Linked DNA regions of Homo sapiens: regions 2 and 3 are each linked to region 1. Evidence: promoter capture Hi-C in 16 types of primary human blood cells and fetal thymus (Javierre and others, 2016). All regions are on one chromosome and are shown on one strand. Each heading gives the region's core, a stretch centred on a gene start or on the middle of the fragment in contact. The rest is flanking DNA. Distances are from core to core; before and after follow the strand shown. Region 1 holds the start of SMIM19 (small integral membrane protein 19). Region 2 overlaps KAT6A (lysine acetyltransferase 6A). Region 3 overlaps KAT6A (lysine acetyltransferase 6A).

Region 1 (3,128 bases), core at 386-2,885:
TTTTATATTGCCAACACTCTTATTTTACAAAGGCATAAACAAGCATTTAATGCACACGTTTGCCCGGCGCGGTGGCTCACGCCTGTAATCCCAGCACTTTGGGAGGCCGAGGCGGGCGGAACACCTGAGGTCTGGAGTTCGAGACCAGCCTAGCCAACATGGTGAAACTCCGTCTCTACTAAAAATACAAAACTTAGCTGGGCGTGGTGGCGGGCGCCTGTAATCCCAGCTACCTGGGAGGCTAAGGAAGGAGAATCGCTTGAACCCGGGAGGCGGAGGTTGCAGTGAGCCAAGACAGTGCCATTGCACTCCAGCCTGAACGAGAGCAAAACCCCGTCTCAAAAAAAACAAAACAATAACAATAATGTACACGTTTCACATTTGGACACACTGAAATCAAACTCACGTATTCAAATTTTTTTAGATTAAGTTACATAAAGCATGCACACCATTTGGCACAGGCCCGGCAAACAATCAGTACTCAACATCACCTGTTATTTTCCTGATTTTCCAACTTTAGAGTCAAACTAAATGTTATAGAATTATATGTATGATTATGTATATACAATATATATAAATACATATAAATACCGTAAATTAAGCTAGTATGTTATTGCGTAAAGTAATGGTCTTACCCTAGACGAAGGTGAGTTTAATTGTAACAGATGAAACAAAGAATAGAAAACTTGTTAAGAAGTGTTCAATGTAAGCTCTCATCTCTGCAGGGTTTCATGTGACTTATAATTACCAGTCAGCTGGTCCTAGAGAACTTAATCAAAATGTATAGTAAAGACGAACTACGTGGACCAGTGGCCATTTATCTGCAAGGTGGCACCAGCCACTGACATCTGATCACTTCCATACTGATGCTGAAATCCTATGCAAATTCATTACTTAGGTCAAGCTGGGAAACACTTCTGTCAAGTCACTACACAATTAAATAAAAATACCCAAAAGGGACTTACACTGACAATGCTATAGCATCCTGGCCATATCCAGTTTTGAAAACACTACGGTGTCAGCCACGCACCATTTAGGACGGGGAGAATGGAAAGCCAGTTTGGAGAACAGACGCTTTCTTAAGAGTACACGTGAATATGAAAAGGGACTCTATGCTCTCAAGACCAAAAAAGAAATCCTCTGCGCCGCCCGGCTACATTGCGCCTGGTGGGACAATGTACACGACCCCTCCCCCGCCGAGTCCCACCCCAAGCGCGCACAGCGGAGCAGGAGGCGCCCGGCACTCGCAGGTAATGCCCGGTCCCTGCCACTTCCGTCGAGTTTTCGCAAAGGCGCCGCACGGCAAGCGACGGCCAGGTCCACGTGGGCCAGCAGGCGCGGGGGACGCAACCCGCCGCCGCCGCGAGCCCCGCCGGCGCCGACCAGCCCTGGCCCCCACCCGCGGGAGCCCGGGAGTCGGGCCGGGGGCTCGCGGGAGGCGGCGCGCGCAGCCCGGGCGGGGGTCGCGGCGCGGTAGGGGAAAGGAGCCCGGCTCCACTCACGCGCCCGGGGGCGGCACTGGGGCCGCCGCTGCGTCTCTCCGGCTCAAAAAACTGAAAAGGGGAAAGGAAAAAAAAAAAAAAAAGACCTGGCTCCTCGTTTCATCCGGAAACCGACCGGCCGGCAGGAAATGACGAAGGCAGAGGGCGTCCAGGTCCGCTCGGTAACCGTTTCCCGCGCGCCCGGCCCCGACTCCGGGGTAAAGAGCCCCGGAGCGGAGCAGCGCTGGCCGCGTGCCGCCTCCGGAGCCGGCAGCGTGAGTGGCCCCGCGTCCCCGCTTCTCCCGGTCCCCGGCGGGGCCGCGTCACCCGGCCCCGCCCCGCGCCGCCCGCCCCGCCCCGGACGCGGGGGTAAGGGGGGTGGCCGCCCGCCTGCCCTCGGTCCCGTGCGGTCCCCGAAACTCCGAGCACCCGCCCGGTCCCGGCGCGGAGCCCCTCGGCGTCGCGTGGAGCTGCGAGTCGCCCGCTTCCGGAAGCGCACACGGGCCAGTTGCGGCGGCCCATCTGCCGGGGCGGCGGGGGCTCGGCGGGAGGGTTGAGGCTGAATCACGCGCAGCCTGCGGGCGGCGGAAACGTCCCTAGAGCCTCGCCGCCCTGGGACCCGGGCTGCTTCCTGGGAGAGGATTACATTTTCTCCCTGCTCCACTTGACTTTCTTCCGGAAGGAGCAGGTCTCGCAGGATCGGGGCCAAGACTGGAAGAGTTCAGGTTTGGGAGTCGTGTGTATAACAGCCCCGCGCCTCCACGCCCAGGCCTGTGTGGCTTTGGACAAGTTATATAACCACCGCCGCCACCCCAGTTTCTTCTCCTGTAAAATGGAGCTTTAGTGCCGCCCAGCAGGGTTGTTGGGATAATTCAGTGACTCTGTGGACTGCCCAGCACCTGTGAATTGCTTTCCTGGATGTTGGGTGAAGGCCTGTGAGCTTGTATGTACCCTTTGGCTTCAGAATACCAAGCCTTTAGTGTTTCAGAGGGATGAGAGAAAGAAATCCCATTTTTTGATGCAGAGGATTTTGTTGTAAGGGACTCTAGGAACTAAGTGGTTCCAATGTGAATTTGTATCAAAGTAACAAAGTTCTAAGTGAGAGACAAAAATGATAACATTCAAGGCACGATGACAAGCGGTGGTCAATTTTAGAATCACCTAGACGTGACATCAGGAACCCAAAATCACGACACAGATTTTAAAGCTTATGATACAGTGACCTAGTCCCTAGAAAAAGTAGTTCTCGGCTGGGCACGGTGGCTCACGCCTGTAATCCCAGCACTTTGGGAGGCTGAGGCGGGCGGATTGCCTGAGCTCAGGAGTTTTGAGACCAGCCTGGGCAGTATAGTGAGACGACCCCCACCCCACCCCCGTCTTTAAAAAAAAAAAAATAAGAATTACCCAGGCATGGTGGCACTTGCCTGTATTCCCAACTACTTGGGAGGCTGAGGCAGGAGAATCCCTCGATTCTGGGACGTCGAGGCTGCAGTGAGCCGAGATCGCACCACTGCCCTCCAGCCTGGGTGACAGAGTGAGACCCTGTTTTTGTAAAAAAAAAAAAAAAAGTAGTTCTCATCCTAAAAGTTTGTCAATCTAAAACCAACCCCTAGTTGTAATATATTGGCAAGTTTATATACTCTTGTT
Region 2 (3,128 bases), core at 215-2,714, 580 kb before region 1:
GTGACAGAGCCAGACTGTCTCGAAAAAAAAAAAAAAAAAAAAAGTTGGAAAAGTTTCTTTCCATTCTCCAAAGAAGATATACAGATGGCCAATAAGCTCATGAAAAGATGCTCAACATCACTAATAATTAGGAAAATGTAAATCAAACCACAATCAGATACTACTTCACACCCATTAGGATGGTTATTATTTTTAAATGCAAAACACCAGAAAATAACAGATGTTGGTGAAGATGTGGAAAAATCAGAACCCTTGTCCCATTGCTGGCGGGAATACAAAATGGCACAGCTGCTGTGGAAAACAGTATGATGGTTCCTCAAAAAAGTAAACAGAATTACCACATAATCTAGCAATTCCACTGCTGATTATAGACCCCACAGAACTGAAAGCAGTTCTTTGTATATGGGTATCTATTTGCATACTCATGTTCATAGCAGCACTATTTACAACCCAAGTATCCACTGACAGATGAATGGATAAACCAAATGTGGTACATACGTACAATGGAATATTCTCCAGCCTTAAAAAGGAAGGCAATGGTTGGGCGCTGGTGGCTCACGCCTGTAATCCCAGCACTCTGGGAGGCCAAGGTGGGCAGATCATGAGGTCAAGAGATTGAGACCATCCTGGCCAACGTGGTGAAACCCCGTCTCTACTAAAAATACAATAATTAGCTGGGTGTATGGCACATGCCTGTAGTCCCAGCTACTCGGGAGGCTGAGGCAGAAGAAACACTTGAACCCGGGAGGCAGAGGTTGCAGTGAGCCAAGATCGCGCAACTGCACTCCAGCCTGGGCAACAGTGCAAGACTCTGTCTTTAAAGAAAAAAAAAAAAAATACAAGGAAGGCAATTCTGACACAGGCTAAAATACATATGAACCTTGGGGACATTATGCTAAGTGAAACAGCCAGACACAAAAGGACAAATATTGTATAATTCTACTTATGGTACCTAGAGTAGACAAATTAATAAAGGCAGAAGACAGAATGATGCTTACCAGGGGTGGGGGTAGGGGTGGGGGGTTGGGAGTTGTTTAATGGGTACAGAGTTCCAGTTTTGCAAGATAAAAAAGTTCTGGAAATAGATGATGGTGATGATTGCACAACAAGGTGAATGTCTTTAATGCCACTGAATTGTACACTTAAAAATGGTCTGGTTAGGCCGGGCGCAGTGGCTCATGCCTGTAATCCCAGCACTTTGGGAGGCCAAGGCCGGCGGATCACGATCGAGACCATCCTGGCTAGCAAGGTGAAACCCCGTCTCTACTAAAAATACAAAGAATGGCGAGAACCCGGGAGGCGGAGCTTGCAGTGAGCCAAGATGACGCCGCTGTACTCCAGCCTGGGTGACAGAGTAAGACTCCGTCTCAAAAAAAAAAAAAAAAAAAAGTCTGGTTAAAATAACTTTTACATTATGTATATTTTACCACAATTATTTTTTTTCAAATTTTCAGGACTCCTTAAATTTCAGGATTCTGGATATTGTGACCTATCTTTCCCTTTTCCTAAGCCTTTTTGCTCTACACTCAGACTTCTCTTTATCCATCTCCTTTGCTAATTCTTTTACCATTAAATATTGACAAAATCTAGAATTCTGTCCTCGGCCATCTTACCTTTTCCATCCGGAGGACCCATAATCCAGTGCTTCCATCAGCTTTCCACTCTCCCCACACCCTCCTTTCTCTCTACGCAGCTTAGATTCTAAGGTCTTTTTCCCTGTAATTCCACCCTTTGCATAGACCTTTAACTCTCTAGTTTCTCTTCTAATTTCACAACAAAATCCTAACCCCTGTTAAATTCAACTCTTCACATAATCGAAGTTATTACCTTAATGTGAATATGGGTGGAGAAAAACAGAGAATCATGCTACCCAGTCTCACATTATACACCTACCCACAAACCTCAAGCAGGTCCTGATGCTTCCTACTCCATTCACTCTCCCGTTCTGAAAGACAACTGCACCCTTTCTCCTCTGCTCAAGCCTCCAACACTGCTTACTCCACCTTCACTTTCAGCCAATGCTTTTGCTTCCTACTGCACTAAACTGGACAAAATCAAAAGAAAACTTCTGCAATTTTTCCCACCCACATCTGTCTGCCTCCACCTTTGTGCCACACATCCTGCCTTTCACCAATACTATGGCTAAAGATTGAGCTCCTAAGCCCACGGCTTCCGTTTGTGCATGAGATAACATCTTCCTGCTCCCTAGCCAAAGAACATCACCCAGCAGTTCCCCTCCTATCTTCTGCATCATCAGCTTTCCCTCTACCAGAGCATTCCATCAGCATACAAACAGCTGTTATTCATTCCATATTTTAAAAAGGGGGAGAGGGGTGTGTGGGCATGGTGGCTCACCCCTGTAATCCTAACACTTTGGGAGGCCAAGGTGGGCGGGTCACAAGGTCAAGAGATCGAGACCATCCTGGCCAACATGGTGAAACCCTGTCCCTACTAAAAATAGAAAAATTAGTTGGGAGTGGTGGCGCACACCTGTAGTACCAGCTACTCGGGAGGCTGAGGCAGGAGAATCCCTTGAACCCGGGACGTGGCGGTTGCAATGAGCCGAGATGGTGCCACTGCACTCCAGCCTGGTGACAGAGCGAGACTCCATCTCAAAAAAAAAAAAAAAAAAAAAAGTATCTTCTTTAGCCCTCACAGCTCTATCCAACTCTCCCTTTCTCTGCTCCTAATTACTGTAAAAAACCTCAAAACAATGGCCACATATTACTACTATAACCAATTTCTCCTTCCATTCTTTCTTGAAACCACTCCAATTATCTCTTCACCCTCCCCTGTCCCCATCATGGAAACAGTTTCTCAAGATTACTTCCTTGTTGCTAAGCTGGACAGTCAATTTTCAGTTCTCTTCTTACTTGGCCTATTTGCAGAATTTAAAAACTGATCCTTCCTTCTTACAACACATTCTTCACTTAGCTTCTAAGGAACTACACCTTCATGTTTTTTTTCCTACTTCACTGGCCATTCCTTCTCAGTTTCTCCAATCTCTAAAAGTTGGAATAACCTAGACTCAAAGTTCTTCTCTTCTCCCTTGGTGATCTCATCTAGTCTCATTTTTCAAAAAAACAACCTACTTGCTGGTGAGTCCTGAATTGAAAATTTCAGCCCAG
Region 3 (3,128 bases), core at 301-2,800, 540 kb before region 1:
TCAAAAATGGAAAAAAAAGTTACTAATAACAATTATATTTGGCTACTGAATTTAAATGTTAGCCATTTTATTTTCACTGTACCTACATGGAAGTTAGTTATCTTTTAATCCAATTGCATAAAAACAACTCACTTTGTCTTAAGAAAAATTTTTAAGAATTAAATCTATAGATCAAACACTTTTCAGTCTCAAACAAAAAATTCTTTCTGACCACCATATATCTTATCCATCCAGGTTACTCTGAGCATAAACCACCATAAGCTTCTCTCAAATCTATCCCTCTACAACTACAACCTAGACTGCCTCTCCAGTCCTCTAGTGGCTCCCAGGTACTTCATCCTACTCCCTTCTTCTATAATCAAGTAAAGTAAATTTAACTTGAAATTAACTTTCTTCGGTGGGTATTTGTTTCACAGAACTTGAAACAAATAATTTTCAGCAGAGACATTATCTATAAGCTGATAAACATCTACTGACAAGCACTCTACTATACAAATACCTGAAGGATTAAGAGGAGTTAAGTCTTAAGCTTAGAAGGGTGGAAAATTGGACTATTTTCAGGCATGGTATAGTGAAGGAAACCAAAATGATGCTCAATGACTGGGCATGAGGAAAACGAGTATTGCTAGGTTGTCAAAATATAACCCAATACACAGTAAGAAGTCTAGTAAATGTTACTCCTTGGTGGGCATTTTAACATAACATAAAAATTTGAATCAATCAAAGAAAAGGTTGTACTCACATTTTCAAAGCACTTATAAATGTCAGTCAATTCAAAGACAAAATCCACACAAAACAATTAGAAACCAATTAAGTACCATTCATATTTTCACTCACACACCAAAAAAGTAAGCCTTCTGGAAGAATCTCTGCAAAATTCGTTATTTCCAATATCATAAGAGTAACAAACTGCACACATATTCCCTTTAGGAAACTCATCCTTTGTTGGAAAGTGTTCATACTTTGAGAAAGCTGAATGTTCTAAAACGTATGGTTCTCTTCCACTCAGGCAAGCTCTTCATGTCAATTTTACCAAGTTTTTCATTCTTTCACTAATAATAGCCTTTGATGAACTCATGCTCTGACCAAATCCTTTCTGACAGTTTTGAATTCCATTTTTAGCCACCTTTTCCAAACTGATATCCTAGGTGAGCAGATATCACCACTTAATTCACCTATGCCTTGCACTTAGTATATACTAAGTAAGCGTTTGTTGAAATTAAAATGCAATGAAACCATGCTTAGCTCCATTTATCATTACTTACTCAGAGCCTTTCCTCCTAGATTCTATATCTTCAAGGAAACTATATCTGGGTGGACTTTAATCTCTTTAAATTCTTCAGCATCCCATATACTATCAAGTACTCTATGGCTGCTTATTAAACATTTTTAAGGATAAGCTGTTCTCAAAAGTACACACCTGCAAAAGATTTATAATAATTAAAAAAAAAATGAATGGCCTGGGAAAAGACCTATAATTTCCATTACTTATAGTATATAACTTTCTATAATTTTAATCAATTCCAACATAACCCATTAGCCATTACAAAACTTTAATAGGGATGCTAAATTGAATTCATTTTTATTATGATGAGTTCATTCAATGACTTCTACAATTAGACATCAATAAGATTACTGGTGAAAGTTAATGATATAATTGGATCAGTAATGATAAACTTCAATTTCCACTTTTACTATGTATGTAGATTATTGGAAATTCAGATAAGAAATCAATCATCTATTAAGATACTCTAACAATCTTCTATTTCTTAATCAGAAGTGACATCAAAAATGACAATATCCATATTTGCTGAATTTAAATTCTAAGTTAAGAAACTGCAAAGCGTTATCTTCCTTTCACAGGTTTAGTGGTTATTTGAAAGCTCCACTTTCTATTTGTCAGTGATACATTTCCTCATTCATCCAAATACTGGATGATATTTACAAATTATTATTGCCTCTCCCTTCCTTTGTGGTCCTTTTCTTTCTACTTTAGTTTCTTTTACATGTTTGTACCTCTCTCCTGACTCAGTCATGTCACCATATGCAATCTCCTCCATAGACTGACTCCCTCTACTCTTTCTTTGACTTTTTTCTGCATATTGCTACCAGATTAATCCTCCTTAAATACTATTTTTATCCAGTCATTTGCCTGGCTCAAAACTTATAAAATATATCTCAACTGTCAACTCCCACAGGCTGGCATTCAATTCCCTCCTTTATATACTAAACTACCTTTCTCACTCTATCTTCCTCTATTCCCAATCTACTCATTCATCTTCAGAAATCATACTTTACGCTCATTCTCCAGGGTATTTTACCCCTTCTCTCAAAGTCGTTTGTATCTCCACCTACAAGAATCACCTCAGCAGCACTTAGAAACAAACTGGGTTCTGCCACTGTGGCATCACTTTAAGCAAGTTACTTAAGTGTTGAAAAGTACAACATACCTGCCTTTCAAGTTAATGTGAAGATTAACAGATAAAGTTATGGCTGTGTAATTCAAATGTAAGAAACACCTAGTAAGTGCTAGTTTCTGCTACACCTTTTTCAAAACTGTATCTATCCTTCAAAGCTTATTTTTGTTAACTGACTGATTGCCACTTCTTAACTCAGGGCAAGTTTTAGTTCTATTTTAACTTCCTGAAATAGGCAAGTTCATTAAAATTTCCTGTGGCCTAAGAAATTTTCTATATATGGTATTTACTTATGCAACTGCATTAAGAGTTTTAAAGTCTTTGTACATACACATTTGCCACACTGCATATTACCCACTTAAAAAAATAATTTAGTGGTACTTGAGTATAAGAGCATTAGCAAAAGAATATTTCTATGCTAAAATATATACAGAAGTGATGGTTGCCAGGCCCGGTGGCTCACGCCTGTAATCCCAGCACTTTGGGAGGCTGATGCGGGTGCATCATCTGAGGTCAGGACTTTGAGACCTGCCTGGCCAACCTGGTGAAGCCTCGTCTCTACCAAAAATACAAAAATTAGCGGGGTGTGGTGGCAAGCGCCTGTAATCCCAGCTACTCTAGAGGCTGAGGCAGGAGAATCACTTGAACCCAGGAAGCAGAGGTTGCAGTGAGCCGAGATCACACCATTGCACTCCAGCCTGGGCAACAGAG

Evidence for each region. Contacts are between HindIII fragments. The CHiCAGO score rates a contact against its expected background, and 5 or more counts as called.
Region 2: a fragment that was not itself captured here is called in contact with the fragment with the promoter of SMIM19 in region 1 in 3 of 17 cell types (non-activated CD4 T cells, total CD8 T cells and activated CD4 T cells); the score reaches 7.3 in non-activated CD4 T cells.
Region 3: a fragment that was not itself captured here is called in contact with the fragment with the promoter of SMIM19 in region 1 in 1 of 17 cell types (fetal thymus); the score reaches 5.3 in fetal thymus.

Annotation. Positions count from the first base shown.
Region 1 is chr8:42,539,950-42,543,077 of GRCh38, forward strand. It overlaps SMIM19 (small integral membrane protein 19), which reads left to right and starts at 1,636. Exons shown (of 4, transcript NM_001135674.2): 1 at 1,636-2,424. It also overlaps a transcript of SLC20A2 not described here. RefSeq lists silencers at 1,217-1,496, 1,637-2,056. The HindIII fragment of the contact is 8,293 bases long and covers 1-2,686 here.
Region 2 is chr8:41,959,138-41,962,265 of GRCh38, forward strand. The region is part of intron 8 of KAT6A (lysine acetyltransferase 6A); the gene reads right to left. Among named protein-coding and RNA genes, the nearest start is that of KAT6A-AS1, 91 kb to the right of the region's middle. The HindIII fragment of the contact is 5,570 bases long and covers 1-3,128 here.
Region 3 is chr8:41,997,409-42,000,536 of GRCh38, forward strand. All of the region lies in intron 2 of KAT6A (lysine acetyltransferase 6A), which reads right to left. Among named protein-coding and RNA genes, the nearest start is that of KAT6A-AS1, 53 kb to the right of the region's middle. The HindIII fragment of the contact is 2,046 bases long and covers 528-2,573 here.